Linked DNA regions of Homo sapiens: regions 1 and 2 are each linked to region 3. Evidence: promoter capture Hi-C in human tissues and cell types (Jung and others, 2019). All regions are on one chromosome and are shown on one strand. Each heading gives the region's core, a stretch centred on a gene start or on the middle of the fragment in contact. The rest is flanking DNA. Distances are from core to core; before and after follow the strand shown.

Region 1 (3,679 bases), core at 468-2,967, 650 kb before region 3:
AGAACTCTAAAATTTGACCAGTGTTAATAGGTACGAATGGAGAGCCACAAAATTAAAAACGCAGAGCTTTATCTCACAGGCACATACACATCCACTCCAGATATATTAAACAATTGTATTAGTATGCTAAAATAATAAAACAGTAGGGAAATATTTTTATAAATATTGAAATGGGGAAGACCTTCCCAGGAAAAGCCTCAAACACAGAAACCATAAAGGGAAATATTGATGTATTTGAATACATACAATTTTTAAATTTTAGAATCATAAAATATACCATGAACATAGTTAAAAGACTTTGAGAAAACTGGAGAAAATATTTGCAGATGGAGACAGAGAATGAACACCCACGAAATAGAAGGTGCTATTAAAAATCAGTGAGAGAAGAAAAATAACCCAATACAAAAAATGAAGAAAGGATTTGAACAGAATCCCACTGCACCAAATGTCTAATAATAATGATCATAAAAAGATGCTTAATTCACTCACAAATAGAAATACAAATTAAACTGAATTATCATGTTTCACCCAAACTAGTGAAAACATAAGCGTTGATAGTATTTAGTATTTAGATGTGGGGAAAGGTCTTATACTGTGTGGGAATGTGAGTTGGTATGGGAAATTGGTAAATTTCCCAAATGGTAAATTGAGGGAACTTTGTCAGTTACTGGTAAAATTTAAAATGTGCATGCTCTCTAAAGAACAATTTTTTTTTTCTTTGAGATGGAGTCTTGCTCTGTTGCCCAGGCTGGAGTGCAGTGGTGTGATCTTGGCTTACTGCAAGCTTGGCCTCCTGGGTTCACGCCATTCTCCTGCCTCAGCCTCCCGAGTAGCTGGGACTACAGGCGCCTGCCACCACGCCCGGCTAATTGTTTTGTGCTTTTTAGTAGAGACGGGGTTTCACTGTGTTAGCCAGGATGGTCTCAATCTCTTGACCTCATGATCTGCCTGCCTTGGCCTCCCAAAGTGCTGAGATTACAGGCGTGAGCCACCGCACCCTGCCTAAGGAACAATTTTACTTTTAGAAATCTTCCCTTCAGAAATACATAAAATAAAAATAGTAATCACTACCTTAATAATAACTTCCATTTCTTGAACACTTGATGCGAGTCACGGTACTGTGTACTTTGCATGCTATCTCATTCAAATCTCATGACAATCTTGAGAGACACTGAGAGGGAGACAGAAGACAAACCAAAGCATAAGTATAGTGATAAAATAAGTAATTTTTGTGTGTGCATACTTTAATTCTTAAATTGCTATCAAGAATGCATATTGTTATTAGCCGGGTGTGGTGGCAGGTGCTTGTAATCCCAGTTACTCAGGAAGCTGAGGCAGGAGAATAGCTTGAACCTAGGAGGCGGAGGTTGCAGTGAGCCAAGGTCACACCCCTGTACTCCAGCCTGGGTGATAGACCGAGACTCTGTATCAAAAAAAAAAAAAAATGCATCTCGCTTTTGTGATTATGTATATTAATTGTTATATAATAAAAGAATATTATGGAAAATGAAATTCATAAAGAACAAATGTGTTAAATACCATTTTGATTTTAACAATGGATGGAATATGTTGGGAGATACCCAAGGACAATACAAGTTCAAACTTTGGATAAGTTACTATGTTATTGGGAAGAGAAGATGAAATGTTTTGAACAACCTGAGACAATTTATACCAATTGCTAAATCATCTGGTGTATATAGCTTGTTGCCATAGCAATCCAGAGTAGGGAGCCCAGTATATACTTGTTTCTGTGACAGGCAGTCTCTAATTCTTGCTACCCTGAATTTCTCTGGTTGATATATCTGATGCTGCCCATATAGTCTCATTCCATTTGTCTGCTTGAGCAGCTGACTCGTCAGTTTCTTCTGGTTTAAATTTAAATCTGTATTGTTCCTTTCCAATTAAGATCACCACCTAGAGTAACTGCTGACTACATGGAGATTATAGAAAAAAGTGGTGCTTTTAACTGTAAGGTTTTCTGACCCCATTTCTAGAAATACACTTCATCAATAAGTAGAACTTTCCTTTATTGTCTATAAATGGCAGTACAACATACTGGTTAAGAGCACAGACTCTGAACTAGACTTGAAATACTGGCAGCGCCACTTTCCAGCTGTGTGACATTGGCAATTTACTTAACCTCTGACTTTTAATCTCTTCATTCTTAATATGGAGATAATAATAATGGTATCCTCAGGCCGTGTGCAGTGGCTCACGCCTATAATCCCAGCTCTTTGGGAGGTGGAGGGGGGAGGATCACCTGAGGTCAGGAGTTTGAGACCAGCCTGGCCAACATGGTGAAACCCTGTCTCCACTAATAATACAAAAATTAGCCTGGCATGGTGGCACGGACCTGTAACCCTAGTTACTTGGGAGGCTGAGGCAGGAGAATTGCTTGGTGCCACTGCACTCCAGCCTGGGCGACAGAGTGAGACCCTGTCTCAAAATAAATAAAAATAAATAGATAAATAAATAAATAAAACAATGGCACTCTTATGTGGTTGAAGATTGAGTCCATATATGTAAGGTACCTTAAATGACAATGTATCTGGCACATGGTAAATGTTCTATAAGTACTTACTACTAGAAATAGGCACCTTAATTAAATATTTCTACCTCTTTTGTTTTATTTTATTTTATTTTATTTTTTTTTGAGACAGAGTCTTGCTATGTCACCCAGGCTGGAGTGCAGTGGCATGATCTCAGCTCACTGCAACCTCTGCCTCTTGGGTTCAAGCAATTCTCCTGCCTCAGCCTCCCGAGTAGCTGGTACTACAGGCGCCCGCCATCACATCCGGCTAATTTCTGTATTTTTAGTAGAGATGAGGTTTTGCCATGTTGGCCAGGCTGGTCTTGAACTCCTGATCTCAGGTGATCCACCCACCTTGGCCCCCCAAAGTGCTGGGATTACAGGCATAAGCCACGGCGCCCAGCCAATATTTCTACCTTTTGGGGTTGCTTCCTCATCATGGAATTAATACTTGCTTATGGAGGCTGTTTCCTCTTTATAAACAGTACCCCTCACTTGTAGCTCCATTCTGAAAAATTCTGACAGATAATTCAGCAGACTAAACGATCAAATCACCCTGGCACGTTCCCCTCAGCTGGGCTCTGCAGGGCAGCTAAGATTGGGCACTGATGTTCCTGGCTTCAGTCCTACCCGGGTTATGCAGCTACGGCTTCATACATACACCAGTTGCACTAACTTGGGATGAAAATTAAGTTAAAACCAGTAGAAAATTTCATCCTATGTTTTGGTGGTAAAAGAAGCAAATGAACAAATGAATAGAGGCTGCCAAACAGTTGTCTCACCAACTGTTCCGACTAGCTAACAAGATTAGCTAGGTCATACCTAGTCGTAAAAGAATACTATAAGAACTCAGAAATTCGACATATTTCTACTACTTGCTTGTCATGTAGATAAACAGATTAAAAGAACCATAAAAAAACAAAGAGAAAATAATAGTAGGATTAGAGAGCATGTTATCATCTCATGGGCTCACTTGGCCTTAGAAAGAGGTGTTTATCCATCATGAATATGAATCCAGGGGTCTGAATGGATATAAGAGAACCAAATGTAACAGAAATTTAATATCATTTTTTCCCCTGAGATGAAACATTTTACATTTTCCAGTTTATTAGATAAAATTACTAAACATGTTCTAGACCCTGGAGTTGT
Region 2 (3,410 bases), core at 580-3,079, 580 kb before region 3:
ATGCTAGGGAAAATTACAAATAATTGAGAGGGAATGTGGAGATATAATTCAAATGGGACAAACTGGCAGTTATGTAGGATGAATCAGTCTAAAGGTCTAATGTACAGCGGGAAAATGATAGCTAATAATATTGTATAGGCTGGGTGTGGTGGCTCACACCTGTAGTTCTAGCATTTTAGGAGGCCAAGGAAGGAGGATAGCTTGAGCCCAGGAGTTCAAGACCAGCCTGGGCAACATGGTGAAACCCCATCTCTATAGAAAACACAAAAAAATTAGCCTGGCAATGTGGCATGCACCTGTAGTCCTGGCTACTAGTGGGGCTGAGTTGGGAGGATCCCTTGAGCTTAGGTGGTCAAAGGCTGCAGTGAGTAGAGATGGCACCACTGCACTCCAGCCTGAGACAGGGCAGGACCCTGTTTAAAATATATATATACAGTATATACAGTAGATATATATTATATAAATTATATATATTATGTATATAAATTCATACTCATATATATAATTTGCTAAGAGAGTAGATTTGAAGTACTGTTGCCACATACACACACACACACACACACACACACACACACATACACACACACACATGAGGTAACTATGGAAGATGATGGGCATGTTAAATTGTTCATTGGTAGTAATCATTTCACTATGTATATGCGTATCAAAATATCATGTTGTACATCTTAAATTTAAAAAACAATTAAAAAGCCCCTAAATCATTGGGACACAAAATAAATATAGTGGATATGTGCCAATTAGGAAACAGAACTCCATCCACTCCATGTGTTTTTTGCAACCGAGAAAGAGAGAGATCACTGTGTACTGATGTCATAAAGAAGAGGTTCATGGGGGAAGCAGAGCATGAACCAGGCAAAGAAAGATGGAGAGAGGATAGTTACTGGATGCCAACCAGGGGTGGAACAGCATTTTCTTCAACAAGCACTTTTAGAAGGCTTGTTATGTGTCAGAAACTGGTCTTAGTGCTTTCAAAATGCAAACTCATTTAATCCTCGTGGTAACTCTGTGAAGTAGGTACTAGTGTTATCATGTCCATTTTTACAGATGAAGCACAGAGAGTCTAAGTAGCCTGTTAAGGTCACACAGCTGGAAGTAGAAAACCATGATTTATACCTGGGGAGGAAGACACCACTGATGTGCTTTTAACCACTGTGCTAGGCTGCATCCTCGGCATCAAGCAAGGCATTTGGAAAGGAAACTGAGCTACAGGGAATCAGTTATACTGTGGACGTGTGGTGATGATGGACATCCGTGTGGCCCTTTGGGCTTGCAAAAGCAGAGATTGTTTTGAGAGATGGCAGCTGGAGTTACAGATTCATAAGTGTCATCTACCAAGACACACAGGTGAAGCAAAGGATAGCTTGCATAAAGAGCAAACCTTAATTTTTCCTTGAATGGGACACTTATTAAATTCTGCCTATTTGACAGTCCTTAGGCGAAAGGAGCTTTTACATTGTCTCTTAGTGGCAGGTTTCTAACCGACAGATTGCAAATCAAAGTGAGGGGGCATGCAAAGATATTTGCAGTTGTGAAATATACCCATGGAGTGACACAGGTCCCCACTGTGTCACTGCATCCAAAGCAATCAACACATACATAGACAGTACTGATTAGGAGGGAAAAGGCTGTCTTTGTGGAGCAGCAAAGCTTCTATTTTGGATATTTATTGTTTTGCTCTGAGAGCAAAGCCTCAAGTTTAAGGCCTTTTTCATACCCACTGCAAATCAAATTATTAAAGAGTGCTGAACTGCTGCTCTCATTATTCTGATTAACAATTCAGAACCTGATATTGAATTATTCATGGTGTTTAAATAACTTATCAATGCGAACAAAAGTAATGCGAAACTGTTGCAATTAGAAAAGCTTACTTAAAGCTTGTAGACAAATATCCTTAATTAAGTCATATTGCCTGCTGGAGATGGAGTTTCTGGGAACCAAAGAAGAACTGGAGAAATGGAAGTCCAAGAGGGGTAAAAAACAAATAAACAAAAATCCCATGTGTGTGAAGGTACTTTAGTGTACCCACATGATTTTGGAATGCTTGAGGGAGCTTCAAGCAAGAGTCCCCTGAAGGCCTACCACTGCCTTTGGAGAGTCTAGTTAATTAGGTCAAAAAAAGAGAATTTAGAACAATATGATACATTAAGCTTTCAGTTACAGAAAAGTGACAGGAATGGTGGATGCTAATGTGTAAGTAATCAAAAGTTAAAAAAAAAATACTGACCCAGGGGCAGGAAAACCAGTCTAAGGAAGGTACAACTGGCATCATCTTGAGTGTGGTGTCTGAGCACTGGGGAAACCCTGAGGCTCCCGGTTGTTCTATTTTGTCTGCTGCTCCTAGATTTTCTCTAAACCATTTTCCTATTCTCAAGTCCTCAAATGGGAGAAAGAGGTTTGGGGTAGATGAGAGACCACTCCATTACTAAGCATGTTGAAAAAAACCAAACAAACAGACACCATTTATCATGTACTACTGAGATGATTGGGTCTGTGGTTCCAAAGCCAAACAGTAGCTTGTTCTTGTCTCATAAAGAGCTCACAGTCATGCTGGAAAAGCAAAACAGCAGATGCAGTAGTCATGCAGAAGGTGCCCAGGATGCATAGCAGAGGGACGGAGCTCTCTTAGGGTCCAGATGGCTGAATACCCAGAAGCTGGAGAGACTCATGTTTCCCAGTGTTGAGGTCTCACATGGGTGGAATGGAGAAGTCACTGTACCAGTCAATGTCCTTAGTTTCAAGCAACACATACCAATGGGATAACTTTGGCAGCAATTAGTGGAAGGCAGCTCTTTCCAACAATAAAAGGCTAGAGGGGCAGACTTGACAAATGGGCAACAGTAGGGGAGTTTGGAAGATAAGGTCAAGGCAAAGTTACCTCATTATACTAGTTGGTGTGGGTAGTTATCATTGGCATCTTCCCAGAGAGACGCTTGTCACCATGCCACTGGACCCTGTTCCACATCTTTGACAGCCTTTGTTCCTCCTTCATGGAAACACTCACCAAGAGTCAAAGTGCTGACTGGGAGCACCTGATTGGCTAAGCCTCAGTTACATGGCCCAATCCCAGATGTCAGGGCGCAAAGTTGAGAAATATCTCATACCTTTTTTTTTTTTTTTGCAAAGTGCGGCTCCTTCCCAAGCTTGCCTCCTACCTATTTGGGGATTTCTTCACATAGGAAGGATATTTGGTTGTTGGGTGACCAGCATCTTCAGCAGCACCCTCCTCTAGCCAAACACCTTGTCCTTCAGCCATGAGGTATTTGGGCTGACTGCACAGGGAGAAGTACACATGTATGCACCCAACTTCCTGGGACATACCTTGAACCAACCCCCACTACTGTCTAGAAGTGTTGAGAGGAAACATATCCTTTATGGTACATTGTCATACC
Region 3 (3,546 bases), core at 458-2,957:
CTGGGTTCAGATCTCCAGCTTTCTCCCATCAAAAATCCCCCTCTAATCCAAAAGAAGCTTGTAACCCACTGTGAAGGAATGCCACAGGTACACAGTAGAGATACTTACAGCCAATCAGATCTAGAAGGACAAAGCTCTAGGCAAAATAGCAAATCACAACTAGTCTCTCAGCGTGTCCTAAGCATTCGGCAGCCCTGGGAACAGGCAGACCCTGCAGGAGCTACCCAGGGCATCCAGTGAGAAAATGGCAAACATATCATCCCGCCAAATTCTGATCAGAACCCCAACACCCAGGCCCCAAAGTCAGTGTACGCGCTGCGCATCTCCGCGGCTTTTTCAGTGGTGGGTGCAAACCACAGGCACCTCCCGGACTCCTTGGAGGTGCTGGTTCCGGCTGAGCCTAGTCCCCCACCCCACCCCGAATCAGGGGTTTACCAAGGGTCTCTTCAAAGTGGCAGCCGCACTGTGAAAGTGAAACCAGACACTTGAAAACTGTCTTTCCTCTCTCTAAGGTTGCTGGCTGATGGAGCCACCGGCAGGGGTCCCGGGGGTGCTAGGAATTCTGATGGATGTTCTCCGAGGACCCTTCGCTGCTCTCGTTGAGGGGCGTCTCCGAGGTCTCCTCCAGCTCATCGTCTGCCCCCTCCTCCTGAATGGTGAGGTGCACGTCCGGGGAGGAGGACTCGGAGCTCACGCTGTCCCCTTCCATGGAACAGAGGGTGCAGGACAGCGCGGGCGCCACGCTCTCCTGCAGCATGTTCAGCATCAGGGGCACCTGCACCGACCTCAGGCCCGACACCACAGGCAGCGGCTTCATGGCCTCCCCCCAGAGCCGCTCCTCGTCTTTGTACAGCAGCAGGAGGCTGGACTTCTTCTCCCGCCTCTTGGATTTCATGTAGCCCAGCATGATTCCGATCAAGAAAATGCCGTAGAAGGACATGACAACCAGAATGTAGAAGTACTCGTTGCCATTGCCGCTGCCGCCGCCGGCCGCACGGGACTCCAGGGGGCTGCTGGAGGCGGCGGTGCCGGGGTGCGTGCTGTTCAGAGGCTCCATTTTCAGCATTGAGGCTGCCTCCACAGCAGGGGCTGGGGAAAAAGCCGCAGGTTAGAACTCTCCCCCAGGTCCTGGGCACAGGGAGGTGGGGGAGCACGAGGTTTGTGGAACTGCAATACCAAAAAAGCTTAAAAGTGCATGAAAGAAATAGCATAAGAGGGTTCGCCAAACAGCTGACAAGAGTGAGCTATGAGGGCTTGGAGTGCACGGGAGAGAAGCCCGGGAAGGTTCACTGGGAAAAGTAAGAAGGACTTTTTTTTTTTTTTTTAGTGTACACATTTGTCCTGTTTGTAGTGAGCAGTATTACTTTGATTAAAAAAAAAATCAATGTAAGACAGGAGCATACAGTAAATAGTATCTTTAAAACTGGGAAACGTATTTTAACTGAGCAGAAACAAAGTTTACATTGTGTTTCCAAAACCAAACTATTTTAAATTCAAAACAATGTTTCCTTAGAACAAAGAAAAGCAGGAAGAAAATAAAGGAAAAAAATTCATCTATTAATTGGCAAAAATGTCCCTCTTTCAAATGTTTCTGAAAGCAAAGTGTAGCCTTGCTGACTTACCAAGGCTGACAGTTTGTCCCAAGTTTTGAATTCCCAAATCGTCCAGTCCAAGAGGGTTCTTCTGCTCTGTCCGGCTCTGCGCTCTGACAACTCCGCTGCTGCAGTTGGGATATATAGTCAAGAAGTGCATCGTCACGTGCTCTGGGAGGAAAATTTACAACAGAGATTGATCGTGGCAGAGTGAGCAGTGAACTGAAAGCACTGCAGTTCAACTCCCTGAACTTTGCAGCTGTGAAAAGTGAAAAAGACTGGGAAGTGGGAACTGCTCCTCAAGCCCCAGCACCCGGCCAGGGTTTTCAGGTAGCGGTGACGATGAGTGAAAAGAGGAGAAAGGGATGTGCTGTGCTGGAACCGTTACCCCAAAGTCCGCGCTCACTGAAAATTAGCTCATGCTTCGCGCGGCTCCTGGGGAATAACCATTATTGGGCTACAGGTTTTCAGAGGCAGCTGAATCCCATAATCTGGATGAAAGACAGTTGGAAGCAAGTGCGGGATTTACAGTCAAGGAACTGGGGCTTCGGTTTCAGTTCTTCCACTCCTTATGCAAATAAGATAAATCCTTCCTTAACCTCTCCGCACCTCACATTCCTCGTCTGTAAAATCGTTGTGCCTGGCGGGGGGGGGGGTCTTCTGCAGGTAGGATTATATAAACCACGTGACCTTTTGAGACCCTTTCAGCTTAACCCTTCTAAGATTGAAGGCTGCCTGGTGTTGCTTAGCCCTCTAAAAGCAGAGATTCTAGCTGCCTTCCACATCAAGGTCACAAACCTATGTTTATAATAATTTTTTTTTAAAAGCTCCCACATTCTTTTCAGTGGTCTGCATTAAGTGGAAACATGTTGTCGTAAAAGATACTATGGGCAGGTTTTGTTCCGTCCTGCCATACACAGCTGCTCCTCTGAAGCCTCATGCGGAGGCTATTGACACGTCTCTTTGCTGTCTCTCGTAGGTCAGGGGAGGAGCAGGACTATTTCAGAGTGCAACTAAGCACAGTTCAAGTTTTTTAAACCTCGGTAGACCCTGTGTTTAAATGGCTGCTGTGATCAAAATTGGAAGAGGAATTGCAGGCTTTAATGTCAGTCTCTCTGCTCCCTGGGCTGCTTATTCTGAGGCTTTCATGCTAAGTGGAAGGAAACTGGGAGAGATCCACTCCCTCCAGTTGTCTGTGGCCTGTGGATTGCAGCCAGACTGTCTTGTGGGCCAACTCTAAAGGAAACATCTCTCATGGTTCTGCTGTAGTCAAACTGACGCATGCGACATCCACCTGACCTGCTTGAACATATATAGCTTAGGCACTGGAATTTTCACTGCTGCTACAGGAACCCCCCTGGGTTTGCACCTGATCCTGATTCTAAGAAGACACCTGGAGGAAGAATAGGAAGATGAACTGAATGCTGCCATTTTTCCCACTTGACTACTCACCTGTGTTCATCCATAAATCCCCAGCTGGCACTGGAGGTACCAACCATCGACCACTCCAGCATCACGATCATCCATACAGTGGAACTGTGCTCACACCAGTAAAGATACCCTCACCATTGTGTTAATACGTAAAACCCTCCATAGCTACCTCAGCCATGGTAGACTTGGTCTTTTCAACAGGTGTCCATCATAAACACTAGAACACTTCCATCTATATCTAAGCCTACACTGGAATGTCTGGGACACTAGAACAAGATGGGCCCAAGAAAGAGATGCCTGTTGATTGTTGACCCTGGTATTTTTTATTGTATACCTTAGGACATACGAGATTGGTCATCATCCAGGGATTGTCCAACACCAAAGACTGGAAGCTTTGAGTAGGCAGAAAGGAGGTGGGGATAGGAGTTACCAGATTCAAGGAGCAGGAAGTACAAAGCCTGGTGCCAGGAAGCCAAACAGAGGCTGAAGTTTTAAACATAATAAATCCCCAAACCTGAGCCAA

What was found. Contacts are between HindIII fragments. The study calls those that stand out against the background at their distance.
Region 1: a fragment that was not itself captured here is called in contact with the fragment with the promoter of KCNE4 in region 3 in 1 of the 25 tissues and cell types used here (mesenchymal stem cells).
Region 2: a fragment that was not itself captured here is called in contact with the fragment with the promoter of KCNE4 in region 3 in 1 of the 25 tissues and cell types used here (mesenchymal stem cells).

The regions. Positions count from the first base shown.
Region 1 is chr2:223,700,135-223,703,813 of GRCh38, reverse strand. No RefSeq gene overlaps it. Among named protein-coding and RNA genes, the nearest start is that of SCG2, 100 kb to the right of the region's middle. RefSeq lists an enhancer at 3,511-3,679. The HindIII fragment of the contact is 4,357 bases long and covers 1-3,679 here.
Region 2 is chr2:223,627,244-223,630,653 of GRCh38, reverse strand. No RefSeq gene overlaps it. Among named protein-coding and RNA genes, the nearest start is that of SCG2, 27 kb to the right of the region's middle. The HindIII fragment of the contact is 4,424 bases long and covers 1-3,410 here.
Region 3 is chr2:223,050,351-223,053,896 of GRCh38, reverse strand. KCNE4 (potassium voltage-gated channel subfamily E regulatory subunit 4) reads right to left here and starts at 1,707. Exons shown (of 2, transcript NM_080671.4): 1 at 1,623-1,707; 2 at 1-1,089. The coding sequence starts at 1,066. The coding sequence ends at 554. RefSeq lists an enhancer at 852-1,399. The HindIII fragment of the contact is 5,924 bases long and covers 622-3,546 here.